Regions from separate parts of the Homo sapiens genome. Here all the other regions are linked to region 4. Evidence: promoter capture Hi-C in 16 types of primary human blood cells and fetal thymus (Javierre and others, 2016). All regions are on one chromosome and are shown on one strand. Each heading gives the region's core, a stretch centred on a gene start or on the middle of the fragment in contact. The rest is flanking DNA. Distances are from core to core; before and after follow the strand shown.

Region 1 (3,884 bases), core at 385-2,884, 270 kb before region 4:
TCCCTGTGTGCATAGCTCTGTGTCCAAATTTCCCCTTTTTATAAGAACATCAGTAATATTGGATTTGGAGCCCTCTCTATTCCAGTATGACCTCATCTTGACCAATTACATCTGCAACAACCCTCTTTCCAAATAAGGTCACATTCTGAAGTATTGGGATACGGAACTGAAACATACAAATTCATTGTATTTTTGCGGGGAGGGTACATTTCAACCGATAACAGTCACCATCACCCCAGAAGCATTCCATGTAAAAGAACCCAATACAAAAACATCTACACAAGCTACATATATTAGGGAGGAACTAGGCTTGCCCCCAAAGTAGTCTGCAGTTTTTAAGAGGGGCTTCTGGTCCTAGCAAAGGTGCCTAGTGGACTCTTCATGGATGATTATCTGCTTGAGGGAGAGGCAAAGCGGGTGTGGGAGAGACTGTGCAGAGGAGGCGGACAATGCCAAAGCCAACATATGAAAAACCCTGATCTGTTTCAGATTGACCAAAGCTTCCTTTTAAGTTGTCCTGTGAGTCCATAGAAAAGATGTGATTATACAAATTCACTCAAGCACATTCTTCATCAACACATGCACTCCCTAAGGGAAGGCCCACCTGCATAGTTACACAAAAATGACACTGACAGGTTAGGGGGCTTGCTTGAGAACACAAAGGAAATCAATGTCAAAGCCGAAAGCCCCAAACCCTGTGATTACTACTATTATTTTCTACTTTTCTTCCCTTTCTCTGAGCTTTCCTTGCAGAGGTGGCTGAGCATTAATTCTAGTGTGCAAATGTGGAGGTGGCGAGGCCATTTAAGCTACTTAGGAAAAATTCTTATTTCGCTGGTACCTGCTCTCACCACCATTCTAACATTCATAAAAGAATCCTTCTCTGGTTCAAAAGGCACTATTGTTGCCACATGCCAACTGAAAGTTTATTCCTGTCAACAGGGAGAAGATTAAAGACTGGGTCTCCTTCATGTCATCATTTCGCCAGGATATAAAAGCAACACAGCAGAACACAGAGGTGACTCCATATCACTAATAAAATAACAGGGCACCTGAACACAACCCTCTTTCAATAGAAAACAATGGTAGCTTTCCTTTGCCTCCTTAGTAACTGGCTTTAATACAAGGAATAAATAAATGAGAAAATGTACATCCTTATTACTTTTTATGATTAACAGAAAAAAATTCTTTTGTGTTTTGTGAGAGAGCTAAAGTACAGACACTTCAGATTTTTATTATTGTGTTAGAGGGAAGAAAAGTTAACTGTGACATTTTTAAGTAGTAGCTAGAATATAGTATTTTCCATCATTGTTATTCAAGGTGCATGACAAGCTCCCTTTTGAATGACTAAGTCTAGGGCAGTTTCTATAAAAATGTTTTACATGTATCTTGCATTTTTAATATAATGTATCTTTCATGTACATGCTTAGCAGTTTTAAGTTTTAAACTTATTTCAAAAGGGCCTCTGCTAATGTTCCTTTCTCAGGGCAGACCTTTATAGATGGAACTTTGGTCCCTAGGTATCTTTTTTTGACATGTTTTCTAGGTTGTTCCATGCTTACAGCAAAAGCCAAAGAGAAGGAGAAATCAAGGCATGTCTTCAAGTAGACTGAAGTGATTAGAGCAAAGGGAACTGGGGTGGAGGGTGTCAGAAAGAGACACAGTTGAGGAGACAAGTTGAGGGAAACGCTGGTCATCTCTGAGGGTCAGGCTAAATGTCCTCAAGGGTTTGGAAACAGGAGAGAGACAAGTTCGGCTCTTGTCTTGGTGAAATAATGCTGGCAGGCCAGCGGCATGAATGTTAGATTGCTATGGGAAAAGACAGGAGGCAAGGAGCCCGGTAGAGAGGCTGCCGTTTCATTCCAGACAGAGATCAACTGTGCCCTGACTGATTCCTTTTTTTGTGAGCAGGAGGAACTCTCATTGGGTAATAAAAGAACCCTCTTCTACTCCAGCCCTCTCCTTGGCCCTTCCAGCACATCAGAGGCTGTTGGCTCCAGCTCACCAAGAAATGGTCTCCAAGACAAGGTAATGGGGCTCACTTCTTTCTCAGGACACCACACCTGGGAGGCAGCTAATGCCTAAAAATCTTACCAATTAGCAATTGAATTTAACCATGCCCACCTTCCTCAAAGCCCGATGCACTATAAGAAAGATTCTTAGCCCTGATGTTTATCCCATACCACAGATGAGCCTCACTGAGGGCTTGCCCTGAATACCTCTCAGTGTATTCATTCATTTTAGATGCTCTTGATATGCTTTGGGTATGCTAGGGTAAGACCCCTTTGCTAAACCAAAACCTAGCTGGCAACTTGCTTCCTTTCTTTCACACAGAGGGCACAGATCCCTCTGCCAAAAGATTTCCCAGACACTACCTGATTTCTGCCCATTCTGTCTGTACTCCTCAGGCAAAGGCTGAGTTTCTTGTTAATCTCTTCCCTTTACCCTGATCAATCTCGCTTCTCATTCATTATAGCTGTCTATCACTTCTTCCTCATTTCTAATGAAATCCATTTGAAGACATAAAATATAATGTACCTGCCTCTTGAAAGCGACTTGTAATTGGACCTTCAGCTTTCTTGGATTTGCAATGTTCCCAACTTGGGATATTAGTCATAAACATGCTGAGTGGTTTTGTTCTCTGGCACGGATACTATTTTGTCTCTTAGAGACTTATCCATTGACTTTACCCTGTCCATGTATACCAAGCACATCTAATGAGTCCTAGTCCCTTGTTTTATCTAGTTGGTAGCTCTCCAACTATTTTGAAAGCTTTTTGTAGCATATCAAATTCACCATGCCAAACACCTCACCTCAGTTCTTCATTTAGCGAGTAGAAACGGTGGTATGCAGCAGTTAGGAAGCTTCACCCTTGTCTGTAAGTGCCTCTTGCTTTTCACTCATGATATCTCCCTCCCCCTAGAGATAACATTATTGGTCACTTTGCCTTTTCACACTATAGATCCAGTGATTTTTAAACCAGCTCGAGTTAACAGTACTGTTTGCCTTGCTGGGTGGTGTTGTTGTTGGTTAAATTAAGTGGGCTGCCTTTACCCCCAACTCAGCATGATCCGGCTCCATGAGCTTGGAACTTAAAACATGGACAGAACTTAAACACACCTGTATTTTAAAACTTGACTTTTTTTCTAGAGAACATTCAGGGTCTTTTCCAAACCCCCTGCTCTGAGGCATTGTTCTTGGAATTTTTCTGCCATGCAAAGAAGCTACTTTAGTAGAATATTCTGTATCTATGGGGAAGGGGAGGCAATAGTGGTTGAATCTAGATCACCTGGAAACCCATAATTCATACTATCATATGATCAACACAACCAAATTCCATTGCTGTGGAAACAATAGAAGTGTGTGAACAGAACACAAAAGAAAAATATGGAGCAGGAACAGGAAAGGTGCAACGCCTTGATTCTGGGTTAATTACATTCTTAGATGGCACTGGATGATTACAGGAAAAAGATGAGGGTAGCAACTCCAGAGCTTAGTGACTTAGAATGCTACCCACAGGGCTGGTCATGGTGGCTCATGCTTGTAATCTCAGCACTTTGGGAGGCTGAGGCGGGTGGATCACGAGGTCAGGAGTTTGAGACCAGCCTGGCCAATATGGTGAAACCCCATCTCTACTAAAAAATATACAAAAATTAGCTATGCATGGTGATGCGCGCCTGTATTCCCAGCTACTCAGGAGGCTGAGGCAGGAGAATCACTTGAACCCAGGAGGTGGAGGTTGCTGTGAGCCGAGATCGCGCCACTGCACTCCAGCCTGGGGGACAGAGTGAGACTCTGTCTCAAAAAAAAAAAAAAAAAAAAAGAATACCACCCACAGGAGAAAACCACTTGTTCTGAGTGACTGTTCCAAACGGTAGAGAAAA
Region 2 (3,770 bases), core at 31-2,530, 330 kb before region 4:
GCTGATGATCTGCTCGACTCCAGCAGCTGATTTCCAAGCAGACAGTAACTCTTTTATTCGCTGCTGGGACTGAGATCACAAAGCATGTCTCCTCTGACTGTGCTGAGAGTGAATTACTGCTCACACCTAGGCTGCCCTGGGGACTCTACACAGTTTGTTACAAAGGAAGGAGACTCTAAGGATGACACTGCCTGCTGGGGCATTTCCTGGAAGGATTTTGGTGGTGGCATTAAAGGAATTTCAGTTTAATGTTCAGCTCAGCTGTCATTGCTGGGAGACCTTGCAGGTTCCAAGGAGAGTTGTAAATTGCCCCCGTGGCCCTAAACATACCCTCACTGCTGCAGAGGGGCACCTTCCAGAGGCCGTGCTTCCTGAGGTATGTCAGGTTCCATCTCCTGGCCAAGAGCCAAGGAGCCAAAAGGCTGTGCACAGCTGGAGAGGTGTTTGATACCGTAGAGCGAGCTGGTGTTCTCCGCCCCACACAGGAGTGTGAATCGGCACCACGCAGGAATGTGGGGCCAACATCTTCCATCAACTTCTCCACTTCCACGGGCTCTGGAAGTAGGCGAGGGGCTTGAAACAAGATCAGAGACAGCAATGAAAGGTCAGAGCCAAGAGGGCCTATGCAGTGGGCGGACAGGCTTGTCATCGTGACCCTCAAGCTTCAGAGGGTCCGAGATGCTCAGACCCTCTGCTGCTGCCATTGATCAGCATGTTGCTTTTGTTCTGTGCTTAACACTACTTATTGGAGATCATCCCAGGAGAACGCCCACACCTGACCTGAGACTCATTCTGTAGGTCTAGAGCAAAGCATAGGATTCCGAATTTTAACAAAGTTGAGAAACTCTGGAATAGGAGACTTGGGGTTACACCTTGGAATGAATCCAGGCTCTATTCCTCTCTAGCTTTGTAATTTTGGACAAGCTGATTTCATCCCTCTCTGTGAAATGGAACTAATACCTCACAGAACTCTTGAAGATTAAATGAGATAATATATGTAAAGTGGTAAATGATCAAAAAATGATGTTTATTATAACTGTATTTATTATTGTTGTTATTGCTGACACAGTGGAGTAAGAAGTTTAAAAGGCTAGGCAGAGGGATAAAGTCACAGTGAAAAATAGAAAAACGGGGTGTCTAGGGAGCCCCCTCAATTAGCACAAAAAAGTATGAATCCAGTGATCTTCAAAATAAGCCAGATCTTGAAATCCGTTTGTAGCAAGCAAGAGACTTTTAACTGTTAAATGGCAATTATTAGTTTAGTGTTTTAAATAACTTATTTGCATATAATAAAAAGTTACACAGAGTTCTTCCACTCTTGCCTACTGTCTGCTCCCAGCTCCCTGTAACACAGATAACCACGCTGAAAGATAGACATAATAATGAACCGGCGTCAGTGTCGGGAGTAAATACCCAAGATTCATTGTCTCACGGCCACGGAAAACTAAGACACAGACACACAAATACTGAGGTTCAGAGTGGAAGTTTAATAAGCAAAAGAAAGAGAAGAGCTCTCTCTACTGCAGAGAGAGGGGTCCAAGAGAAATGGATTGCTGGTTCCGCAGTGGAATGCAAGGCGTTTCATAGATGAGCTTGAGGAGGCAGTGGCTGATTTACATAGGATGCAAAAGATTGGTTGAACCAGGTGTGTCATTTGCATAGGGCACCAAAAACTGTTTAGGGCTAGGTGTGTCATTTGCGTAGGGCATGAAAAAGCTGGCCACCCCACACTCATCTTTTATTATGCAGCTGGTTCTCCACCTGGCCAGCGCCATGTTACCTGTTTCCTTACTGTACATGTGGTGGCAAAGAAAAGGGAAGAGTGGAGCCTCCATGTTAAACATACCTGGCCCTTACGTAGCCCTTTTCTACTGGCATAGCTGCCGGTGTTCACCCGTGCAAGCTTCCAGCTTGCTTATCTATGTCTGCAGCTTGATTTTTCAGACTGCTCTTTGTTAAAAAAAAAGAAATTATTTGGGGCCTGCTTTTTGTTAAAAGGGAAATTCTGTGGAGGACTCTTATACCCTTACTATCTGCCTAAATAATTTCTATCTCCTGTATCAATAACAGTAATAATCATGATGTTTATTTACCACTTACAACAGGACACACACTGTTCTAAATGCTTTGTGAAGATTAACTTGTTTACAGGCTCTGAGCAAATGCTGTTATTTTGTCCTTTTAACAAATGAGGAAGCACAAGCACAGAGAGGTTAAGTAATTTGCCCACAGTCACACAGCTATGCAGTAGAATAGGGAGTCAAATCCACACAGCCCAGCCCCTGAATCCATGGATTTATCTACTGCACCATCCTTCAAGTGTCTCTTTATGCAGATACGAGCAAATCTAAACATATTTTCTTTTCTTCTTTTTTTTTTCCAAAAGGTAGCACACTGCTGCCATTGTTCTGCAATTTGGTTTTGTTCTGCACTTAACACGACTTATTGGAGATTGTCCCACATCAGAACATAAAGAGGTTCCTCATTCTTGTTTACTGTACTGTGTGATTTTGATTAAAGAACCCTCCCTTTATGATCCAACCTGGTTATTATGGGAGCGAGTGACTAATTGAATAAGCTTATGTCTGCCAGATAGCTCTTGTAATTGAAGTGTGCTATGAAGGTTCAACACTGGAAATGGGAGAGTCAGGGGAAATGAGGGAAGAAAACTTATTACTCCAAAAATGTTTCCAGGTAGTATTAGGTCTCCCACCTGAAAGAAATACTCAAGCAAGAGTTGTCCTGCGTTCGGGCTGCCCTAAATTAACTCCCTCTCAGAAATCTGTTCTCTTCCTATATGTGAGCTTTGAGCCTAATGAGGCTGTACCTAATGAGTGTCTCTGCAGCAGCCTTGCAACAAGAATTGGCAAAATGGAAGTGCGGGTACCAGTGTGCCTGCCCCTCCCTCACCTGCCCCTGACATGTCCTGCTGGTCACCAGGCAGGACGGCAGCTCCATTTAGCTGATCACCTAAACAGAGGTGGCCCAGGGCCTCTGACTGTGGTGTTTCTTCAGCACGAAACGCTCTTCACTCATTCACAAAACACTGTTGAGCACCTGCTATGTGTCTGGCACTGTTGTAGAAGCTGGGGGAACTGCAGTGAAGTAGTCCAGGTCCTGCCCTCATAGAGTTTACACTCTAGCAGGAGACAACATAGCTCTGTAATTTGAGGTCAGGTGATGAATTTAAAAATTAAAGCAGGGGCCGGCGTGGTGGCTTACACCTGTAATCCCAGCACCTCGGGAGGCCGAGGTGGGCAGATTACCTGAGGTCAGGAGTTCGAGACCAACCTAGCCAACATGATGAAACCCCATCTCTACTAACAAAATACAAAAAAAATTGCCCGGTTATGGTGGCGTGCACGTGTAATCCCAGCTACTCCTGAGGCTGAGGCAGGAGTGGGAAGGAAAAAGTGGATATAATAGGGGTAGTAACTCATGTAGGCCCTGTGGGCTGTGGTCAGGACCCTGGAGTTCCTTCCCAGCATATGGGAAAACCACTGGATGGCTCTGGGCAAGGAACTAATCTGACTGGATTTATATATTTTTTTTTTTTTAAATACAGGGTCTCCGTTGCCGAGGCTGGAATGCAGTGGCGCGATCTCGGCTCACTGCAGCCTCTGCCTCCCAGGCTCAAGTGATCCTCCCACCTCAGCCTCCCAAGCAGCTGGGACTATAGGCGTGCACCACCACGCCTGGCTAAAATTATTTATTTATTTGTTTGTTTGTTTGTATTTTTTGTGGAGACCAAGTTTCTCCCTGTCGAACTC
Region 3 (4,138 bases), core at 1,315-3,814, 310 kb before region 4:
AACACAAAAGCCAAATACGATGAGTTTGCTTCGGCATAACTTTTGGTTTTTATGGCACTATGAATATTTATGGCACTGCAGTTTTCTAACAAATATTTGTTGTAATCATTTAAAGCCAAACTGTCAAAGAATTTAAATTTGGAAGGCACATGGGGTTATGGCTGCAAATAAACGAGGCTGAGCATTTCGCGAGCTTTAAGTGTCTGACCCAAGTAAATAGTATAAGATTCGAGAAAGAGTTGGGAAAGAGGAAGGTGTACATGGTGAGATAGGTTTGGTCTCCGTTGCTAGTTCTAGCTTCCGTTATTTTAAGTAGATCTCAATTAGTATAGCATCAAACGTTTTAGCAGAGGTGCTTTTAACCATTCATGTTTAAAAATTAGGCTCTGAGTCTGATCCAAGTTCTAATCCTAACTCTGTCATTTAACCATTTAATACTCACATAACCCACATAACCTTAGGCAGTCCTTCAGTTTCCTCATCTACATATGAAGATGGTAATGTGAAAATTAATGAGATAATGTACATGAAATGCTTAGTACAATGCCTGGCACAAAGTTGTAACCGAAAGAGGATCTGGCTGCTCACCACTTACAGAAAGAAGCCAAAATAACAAGAACAAGGTGTGATCAAAGGAGAGTGAATTTTATTATCCAATGCCAACAAGGGGAAAAGGTCAGAATCCTTTCTGAAAATTGCCACCTTTTCAGTTTCTGGAGAGTGGGCAATGGTTTAAGAATAGAGGCTTGGAATACAGGGAGGGGGAGGGGCTCGGAGGTGCCAGGTGGCATGTTTCACTCCGATGGCTTATCTTAAATTATTGCTCCAACTGGCGAAGGGGCCAGCACCATCTTGGGCCCAACCAGCTTACAAATTAATTGCAGTCAATTGTGCAGTTAATGTCTCGCTGGGAGTGAACTCCGTCCTTGAAGTCATCTCCCGCTAGGGGGAGAGTTCCAGAGATGCCTCGTCCATGTCAGGATTCGGCCCCTGAAGCTTCTAAGGAAATACATGACCAGATAAGTGGGCATGGTGTGAGCTTAACAAGAATCTAGGTAAATAACTGTGCATAGGCATGGGAGCATAAGGTGGAAAAGGAAAGGAAAAAAGTTCTTAAAACAGTTTGAAACTAAGCTGCTCAGTTACAAAGTAATCGACAAGTAGTAGATATCAAAGATGATGGTGATGAATGATGATGATGACGATGACATGAGGCTCATGGAGGGGCAAGAACGGAAGATGCCCCCCTGGATGCCTCACTTGCTCTTTCTGCCTCCAGGTCTCTTCCTTAGTCATGCTTTTCAGTCTATGCTTTCAACCTGAGGTCTCCCAGAAGTGAAGGGATTAGATCAGCGACTGCTTTATTTAGCAAACATTCAGAGTCCTACTAGATGCCAGATGTCATATTAGGGATGGGGCTAGAAAGATGACCAAGAAAGGATGCTTATACCAAAGGAGGTGAACAAATCACTCTAGGGCTTAGTGGCTGTAACACAGTCATGTGTACATTACCCAGGAATACAGAGGGGGTGCATCCTGCCTGGGGATTCCAAGAGAGGTTCCAAAGGAACTGTTTTCATCATCTTCCATTCCAGCCTCCAAAAAAGGCTGAAGGGAAGGTGGTGGAGAGGAAATTAAGGTTAGCAGGTAGAAGATGGCCTGAGAATTCCTGGAAGATCGGTTTAGGAAGGAAATCACTATGTCCCACTGCATCCTCATTGCAAATCAATAGGTCTAGGGTGGAGACCAGGAATCTGCATGTTTAACCAACCTGCCTAGATATTCTGAGGCAGGTGGTCCTCAGACAACATGGATTATTCTGATACCAAAAGACTCCCTTGCAGATCTGCAGGAGTGGCAGCAAAGCCCAAATTAAACAGCTGGAAAAGATCACCCAGGGGCCAGCAGCGCATTGGCTGTTCAAAGACCTGGCTAGCCATCCTATCCCCAGATTGAATAGCAAAGGATTCAGGGCATAAATGAGTTCAGTACTGGAGCATTCTTGTCCAGAAACTTCCAGAGGCTGCACAGGAATGCCAAGCCCTTGTTGGCCAGGCAGGTTTGAGGAAGACTGTGAAGTGTGAGGGAGGGGTGGATCAGCAGACAGCTTTCACTGAATGGGTCCAGGTGCACTGACTTCTCCAGCTGGTGTCAGCAGGCACACGTCTTTCTCTTCCTCTCGATTGCATCACTTAGGCAATCATTTCTAGACAAGATGGGCCACTCATGTATTCCCTCTCCTCCAGTGCCTCATAGGTGCCACAATGCAAAATGCTCCCCTTAACAACATTTTGAGGTTGACATTTTTAAAGGAACTTTTCTCTACAGCACCTTTTGTAATTAACTAGATTAATGTTAAGTAGGGAAGGGAACACAGAATTCTCAAGTGAATGTGGTTTTTAAAAATATATTAGGATATAGGACCCATTCTCAACCGCTTAGGAAAATCAGCTTTTGCAAATTATCTTTTCTGAAGCTTCCAGCTGCCTTAAGTGCTGACAGTTTTTAAGCACTGAGATGAAAGAGACAAATTCTTTTTCTTTTGTGTTACTAATTACAATTTTGCTTGGCATAATGTAGCCTGCTTTCCTCTTGAGACATTTGCCAGCATACATTAATTGCACAAATATTTACAGAGGGCTAAAGCACAGGAGAAGCTTATACCAAAAAAGATACTGAACACTTGGAAAAAAGCCTCTTTGACACATATTTGTGGCCAGCTACCCAGAATCGTATAAACTATTTGCCCCTTAGCCTCAGCAAATGTGTTTAAAGAGCAAGTCCCTGGGTTGACTTAGTGTTGACTTTGCTGGCAATGACTGCTGAAATCTTTCTTCAAGAGCCTTGTGGTGACACTTTTTTTTTCAGGGTTAAAAATAAGGTTTCCAAGAATATGCATGCATCTTATGGGTTGCTATATTGTCAACACTTTTTATCTCTCTAGCCACCCACATGGAATGGAAAAGGTTTATCCAATGATTGTTCCAAACCCCAGGAGTTGCAGAAAGCCAAATTGAGCAAGTCTGGAAAACTTGAATGGCTAAGCCACAAGGTCCTCAATACCATCTTCTTGTTTTCCTAGCATGCTAATTAAGAAAAAAAAGGCCCTGGTGTCAGATAGCCCCAGGTTCAAATCCCAACTTCGGCACTTCCAAGCTATATGACCTTGAGGAGTCTCTTAATCTCTCCAAACCTTTCTTCTTTCATCCTCAAATAGAATTAGTCCTATGTGAGTACCTAGGAAATAATACCTACCTCCACAGGTCTTGTGCCCACCTCACAGGGATGTTAGGTGGAGCCAGGGAAATAACACACAGAAATGGCTTTGCAAAACTCCCCAAAAATCTAAAATCAAATAAGGAGACATTTCCTTTGTTGGATGTTGTTATGAAAACTAAGACATCAAGCAAAAGTCAAGTAAATGTTGGGTTGTGTTTTTTAAACCAGCTTGATCTTATCAATAATTGAGGCCACAGAAAGGAGATTAGGATGAAGAAAAGAAAAAAGGACATGCAAATGATGCTGACATACAGAAGAGGTTCTTTCTGAGGATAACGGCTACCCATGCAGTGGAGAGGAAGAACGTCTTCCAAAAGCGGATGTAGTCAAGCTGCTGGAGATCATAGGCAGGAAAGAGAAGGGCATAAGACGCTGGCCTGAGCTTTAGAAGAGGACACATTTCATATGTAGAGTTGCCATATGAAATAGAAGATGCCCAGTTAAATTGGAATTTCAGCTAGAACAACCATTTTTTAATATATATATCCCAAAATATTGCACAAAATATACTAAAAACTTATTTGTTATCTAAAATTTCAATTTAAATGGGTGTCCGGTGTGGGTGGGTTTTTTGTTGTTTTTTGTTTTGAGGCAGTCTAGCTCTGCTGCCCAGGCTGAAGCGCTGTGGCACAATCTCGGCTCACTGCAACCTCCACCTCCCGGGTTCAAACGATTCTCCTGCCTCAGCCTGCCCAACTAGCTGAGATTACAGGCGTGCACCACCATGCCTGGCTAGGGTTATTTTTTGTTGTATTTCTTTGTTTTCCTAAGTTTGGCAGCCCTAGCCTAACTCTGTAGACCATTGCTCTAGCTCCATTGCCTCATCTTAACCCTGAATGCCCACCTCACAGTGATGTTG
Region 4 (4,175 bases), core at 1,050-3,549:
GTGGGTGGATCACCTGAGGTCAGGAGTTCGAGACCAGCCTGACCAACATGGTAAAACGCCATCTCCACTAAAAATACAAAATTAGCCGTGTGTGGCGGCACACGCCTGTAATCCCAGCTACTTGACAGGCTGAGGCAGGAGAATCACTTGAACCCGGGAGGCAGAGGTTGCAGTGGGCCAAGATCACGCCACTGAACTCCAGCCTGGGCAACAAAAGTGAAACTCTGTCTCAAAAAAATAAAAAGAAAGAAGCCAGGAGTCTCAGGCTTTCAGTGACTTGGATAACTTGGGGTGTAGTCTCCTTCCTCCCCTTTCTAACGCCTCTTGTTTCCTGGCCACTCCTCCTCAACCTCCCCAAGTTGGAAAATCAGCTGATAAATCATGGGCAGGGGGTGAATAAACAAATCACTCCCCAGTTTTAACATACTGATGCTGAGGTTTGGGCCTAAAGCAAATTCATATGTTTGCATTTATGTAAGAGAAAGTGGTTAAAACTGCTTGATTTTATATAAACTTGAAAAACATTACTTTTTGCTTTTGACCTGGACAGCTGTGGAAGTCGGTCTCTCCTTGCAAGGTAAGGATATGAGCTTGGTCATATTGATGACCATCAACGAACATGATGTTCGTTACGGGCGCTGTTCTTATTCCAATGCTAGAAGGACCTGTGAGCATTATATAACATTTTCATGCACCCTTACATAAACAATTAGAAGCTGTTTACTCCTCAAGGACTCAATTAGAGATTTTTTTAATTTTTTTATTTTTTTTTTTATTTCAGGCCTGAGCTGAGGACACTACAGGAGCCAAATTAGAGAAGGGGCTTGCAGTCCTGCCATATTGCATATTCATGGCTTTCTTGTCCCCTCACCCCCAGTATAATCCTTTTTGCCAGGTTAACAACTCACTAATTTCAAAGCAATTCATTTGCCAACTCAAAAAAAAAAAAAAAAAAAACCACAGATACAACTTTAAATGCTTTTGGATTTTAATCCTCTGGAGTATTTATATGTTTTCTTGTCTCATCCCTTCAAAACTAATCTCAGAGTTTTGAGAATCTGGGAACTTGGGCAAAGGAGAAAACAAGCACGCAGACCAAGGAATCTGAAATCGCAGTTCATTACGTCAGCATAAACTGACAGTACCTTTTTGTTTGTATTGACCCAGCTCAAATTATAAAATCACATGAGTAATAAAACACAAAATACAGGTGTTATCATTGAAAAGTCTAAAATGTAATTAAACGCGTTTTTTCCCCCTCGCGGTGGTATCGTTTACTCTGTATCTCAACGTTTCTGTCTCCCTAAGCCTCTCCTTTCATATCATGAGCATACATTTTTGCATCATGCTCACACGTTCATTAGCTAGGACTGAGGAGTGTGTACGATTCCAAAGGGCCCTCAGCGTTAGCTGTTAGATGCACAAACCTTCGCTTCCTTTCCACATCTACTGCACTCGAGGTTCAACAGAGGATCCTTGCAAGAACAGCGCCCAGAGAGCATTCTTGACAGATGCGCGCTTGGCTCCAGCAACCCGCTCTGCTGGGAAGTTTCTTCTAACCACTAACACCCACCTCCAATCCCCCAAGCTGTCACGACGCATGCTGGCTGGGTCCCGTCTTGACGGGGGAAGGGTTTTACACACACCCTGCTAGGCTGCCCCACATCACAACCAAGCTCGCAGGGCAAACTCCTCCAAGCCTGGCGGACAAGCTGTCCCAGGCGCTCTGGCGCTTCCTGAACACCAAGGTCCCCTCCCCGCTCAAGGGAGCTAGCGCTCTGTTCCGCAGAGAACCCCGGAACTGCAGGTCGAGGGGATGCGGGGGGAGCGGGGGCGCAGGAGGGAGCCGAGTGCTGGAGGCAAACGGGGCGCAGGAGCGGGTGCGGGAGGCAAACGGGGCGCAGGAGCGGGTGCGGGAGGCAAACGGGGCGCAGGAGTGGGTGCGGGAGCGAGTGGGGGCTGAGGGAGGGGACGGGGCCCCGGGGGGAGCCAGGCGCGGAAGGGGGCGCGGGGGAACAGGGACCAGGAACCAGCGGGCGCAGGAAGGGGTGCGTCCGCAGGAACCCGCGGGCGCACGGGAGGCACTAGCTACGCGATCAGCTCGGGACTCTCAGGAGCCGCTCAATTGCCAACGGGAGGGGGGTGCGGGGAGTTGGAGGTGGGGGTGCAGACCAGACGGGGGCGTGCCTTTGCCCGGATTGGCTGCAGGAGCCTGACGCGAGGCCCCGGGGGTTGGCTTGGGGAGTGGGAGCGGGGTGGGGTGGGTGCTGGGTGCCGGAGCTGCGGGCCCGGCGCGCTCAGAAACATGCTGAAGTCCCGGCGGCTCTTCCAGCAGCGGCAGCGGCTCCAGCAGCAGCGGCGGCGGCGGCGGCGGCGGCAGCGGCAGCGACAGCGCTCGGCTCCTGCGGGAAAGGCGCCCGGCGCCCATGCCTCCGGCCCCGCGCCGCGGCTGCCCTGACCCGGCCGCGACCTCCCTCTGCGCACCACGCCGCCCGGGCTTCTGGGGTGTTCCCCAACCACGGCCCAGCCCTGCCACACCCCCCGCCCCCGGCCTCCGCAGCTCGGCATGGGCGCGGGGGTGCTCGTCCTGGGCGCCTCCGAGCCCGGTAACCTGTCGTCGGCCGCACCGCTCCCCGACGGCGCGGCCACCGCGGCGCGGCTGCTGGTGCCCGCGTCGCCGCCCGCCTCGTTGCTGCCTCCCGCCAGCGAAAGCCCCGAGCCGCTGTCTCAGCAGTGGACAGCGGGCATGGGTCTGCTGATGGCGCTCATCGTGCTGCTCATCGTGGCGGGCAATGTGCTGGTGATCGTGGCCATCGCCAAGACGCCGCGGCTGCAGACGCTCACCAACCTCTTCATCATGTCCCTGGCCAGCGCCGACCTGGTCATGGGGCTGCTGGTGGTGCCGTTCGGGGCCACCATCGTGGTGTGGGGCCGCTGGGAGTACGGCTCCTTCTTCTGCGAGCTGTGGACCTCAGTGGACGTGCTGTGCGTGACGGCCAGCATCGAGACCCTGTGTGTCATTGCCCTGGACCGCTACCTCGCCATCACCTCGCCCTTCCGCTACCAGAGCCTGCTGACGCGCGCGCGGGCGCGGGGCCTCGTGTGCACCGTGTGGGCCATCTCGGCCCTGGTGTCCTTCCTGCCCATCCTCATGCACTGGTGGCGGGCGGAGAGCGACGAGGCGCGCCGCTGCTACAACGACCCCAAGTGCTGCGACTTCGTCACCAACCGGGCCTACGCCATCGCCTCGTCCGTAGTCTCCTTCTACGTGCCCCTGTGCATCATGGCCTTCGTGTACCTGCGGGTGTTCCGCGAGGCCCAGAAGCAGGTGAAGAAGATCGACAGCTGCGAGCGCCGTTTCCTCGGCGGCCCAGCGCGGCCGCCCTCGCCCTCGCCCTCGCCCGTCCCCGCGCCCGCGCCGCCGCCCGGACCCCCGCGCCCCGCCGCCGCCGCCGCCACCGCCCCGCTGGCCAACGGGCGTGCGGGTAAGCGGCGGCCCTCGCGCCTCGTGGCCCTGCGCGAGCAGAAGGCGCTCAAGACGCTGGGCATCATCATGGGCGTCTTCACGCTCTGCTGGCTGCCCTTCTTCCTGGCCAACGTGGTGAAGGCCTTCCACCGCGAGCTGGTGCCCGACCGCCTCTTCGTCTTCTTCAACTGGCTGGGCTACGCCAACTCGGCCTTCAACCCCATCATCTACTGCCGCAGCCCCGACTTCCGCAAGGCCTTCCAGGGACTGCTCTGCTGCGCGCGCAGGGCTGCCCGCCGGCGCCACGCGACCCACGGAGACCGGCCGCGCGCCTCGGGCTGTCTGGCCCGGCCCGGACCCCCGCCATCGCCCGGGGCCGCCTCGGACGACGACGACGACGATGTCGTCGGGGCCACGCCGCCCGCGCGCCTGCTGGAGCCCTGGGCCGGCTGCAACGGCGGGGCGGCGGCGGACAGCGACTCGAGCCTGGACGAGCCGTGCCGCCCCGGCTTCGCCTCGGAATCCAAGGTGTAGGGCCCGGCGCGGGGCGCGGACTCCGGGCACGGCTTCCCAGGGGAACGAGGAGATCTGTGTTTACTTAAGACCGATAGCAGGTGAACTCGAAGCCCACAATCCTCGTCTGAATCATCCGAGGCAAAGAGAAAAGCCACGGACCGTTGCACAAAAAGGAAAGTTTGGGAAGGGATGG

What was found. Contacts are between HindIII fragments. The CHiCAGO score rates a contact against its expected background, and 5 or more counts as called.
Region 1: a fragment that was not itself captured here is called in contact with the fragment with the promoter of ADRB1 in region 4 in 1 of 17 cell types (erythroblasts); the score reaches 5.3 in erythroblasts.
Region 2: a fragment that was not itself captured here is called in contact with the fragment with the promoter of ADRB1 in region 4 in 2 of 17 cell types (megakaryocytes and erythroblasts); the score reaches 5.7 in megakaryocytes.
Region 3: a contact is called between a fragment that was not itself captured here and the fragment with the promoter of ADRB1 in region 4, in 1 of 17 cell types (total CD8 T cells). The highest score is 5.7, in total CD8 T cells.

Annotation. Positions count from the first base shown.
Region 1 is chr10:113,767,873-113,771,756 of GRCh38, forward strand. PLEKHS1 (pleckstrin homology domain containing S1) reads left to right here. Exons shown (of 13, transcript NM_001395068.1): 6 at 943-1,018; 7 at 1,912-2,028. Among named protein-coding and RNA genes, the nearest start is that of MIR4483, 8.2 kb to the right of the region's middle. The HindIII fragment of the contact is 2,272 bases long and covers 499-2,770 here.
Region 2 is chr10:113,711,260-113,715,029 of GRCh38, forward strand. The region is part of intron 2 of CASP7 (caspase 7); the gene reads left to right. It overlaps LOC124902505 (a long non-coding RNA gene), which reads right to left and starts at 590. Exons shown (of 2, transcript XR_007062294.1): 1 at 331-590. The HindIII fragment of the contact is 1,241 bases long and covers 661-1,901 here.
Region 3 is chr10:113,733,957-113,738,094 of GRCh38, forward strand. No RefSeq gene overlaps it. Among named protein-coding and RNA genes, the nearest start is that of PLEKHS1, 16 kb to the right of the region's middle. The HindIII fragment of the contact is 181 bases long and covers 2,475-2,655 here.
Region 4 is chr10:114,041,567-114,045,741 of GRCh38, forward strand. ADRB1 (adrenoceptor beta 1) reads left to right here and starts at 2,300. Exons shown (of 1, transcript NM_000684.3): 1 at 2,300-4,175. The coding sequence starts at 2,567. The coding sequence ends at 4,000. RefSeq lists an enhancer at 1,668-1,717 and silencers at 1,988-2,267, 2,338-2,397. The HindIII fragment of the contact is 8,909 bases long and covers 1-4,175 here.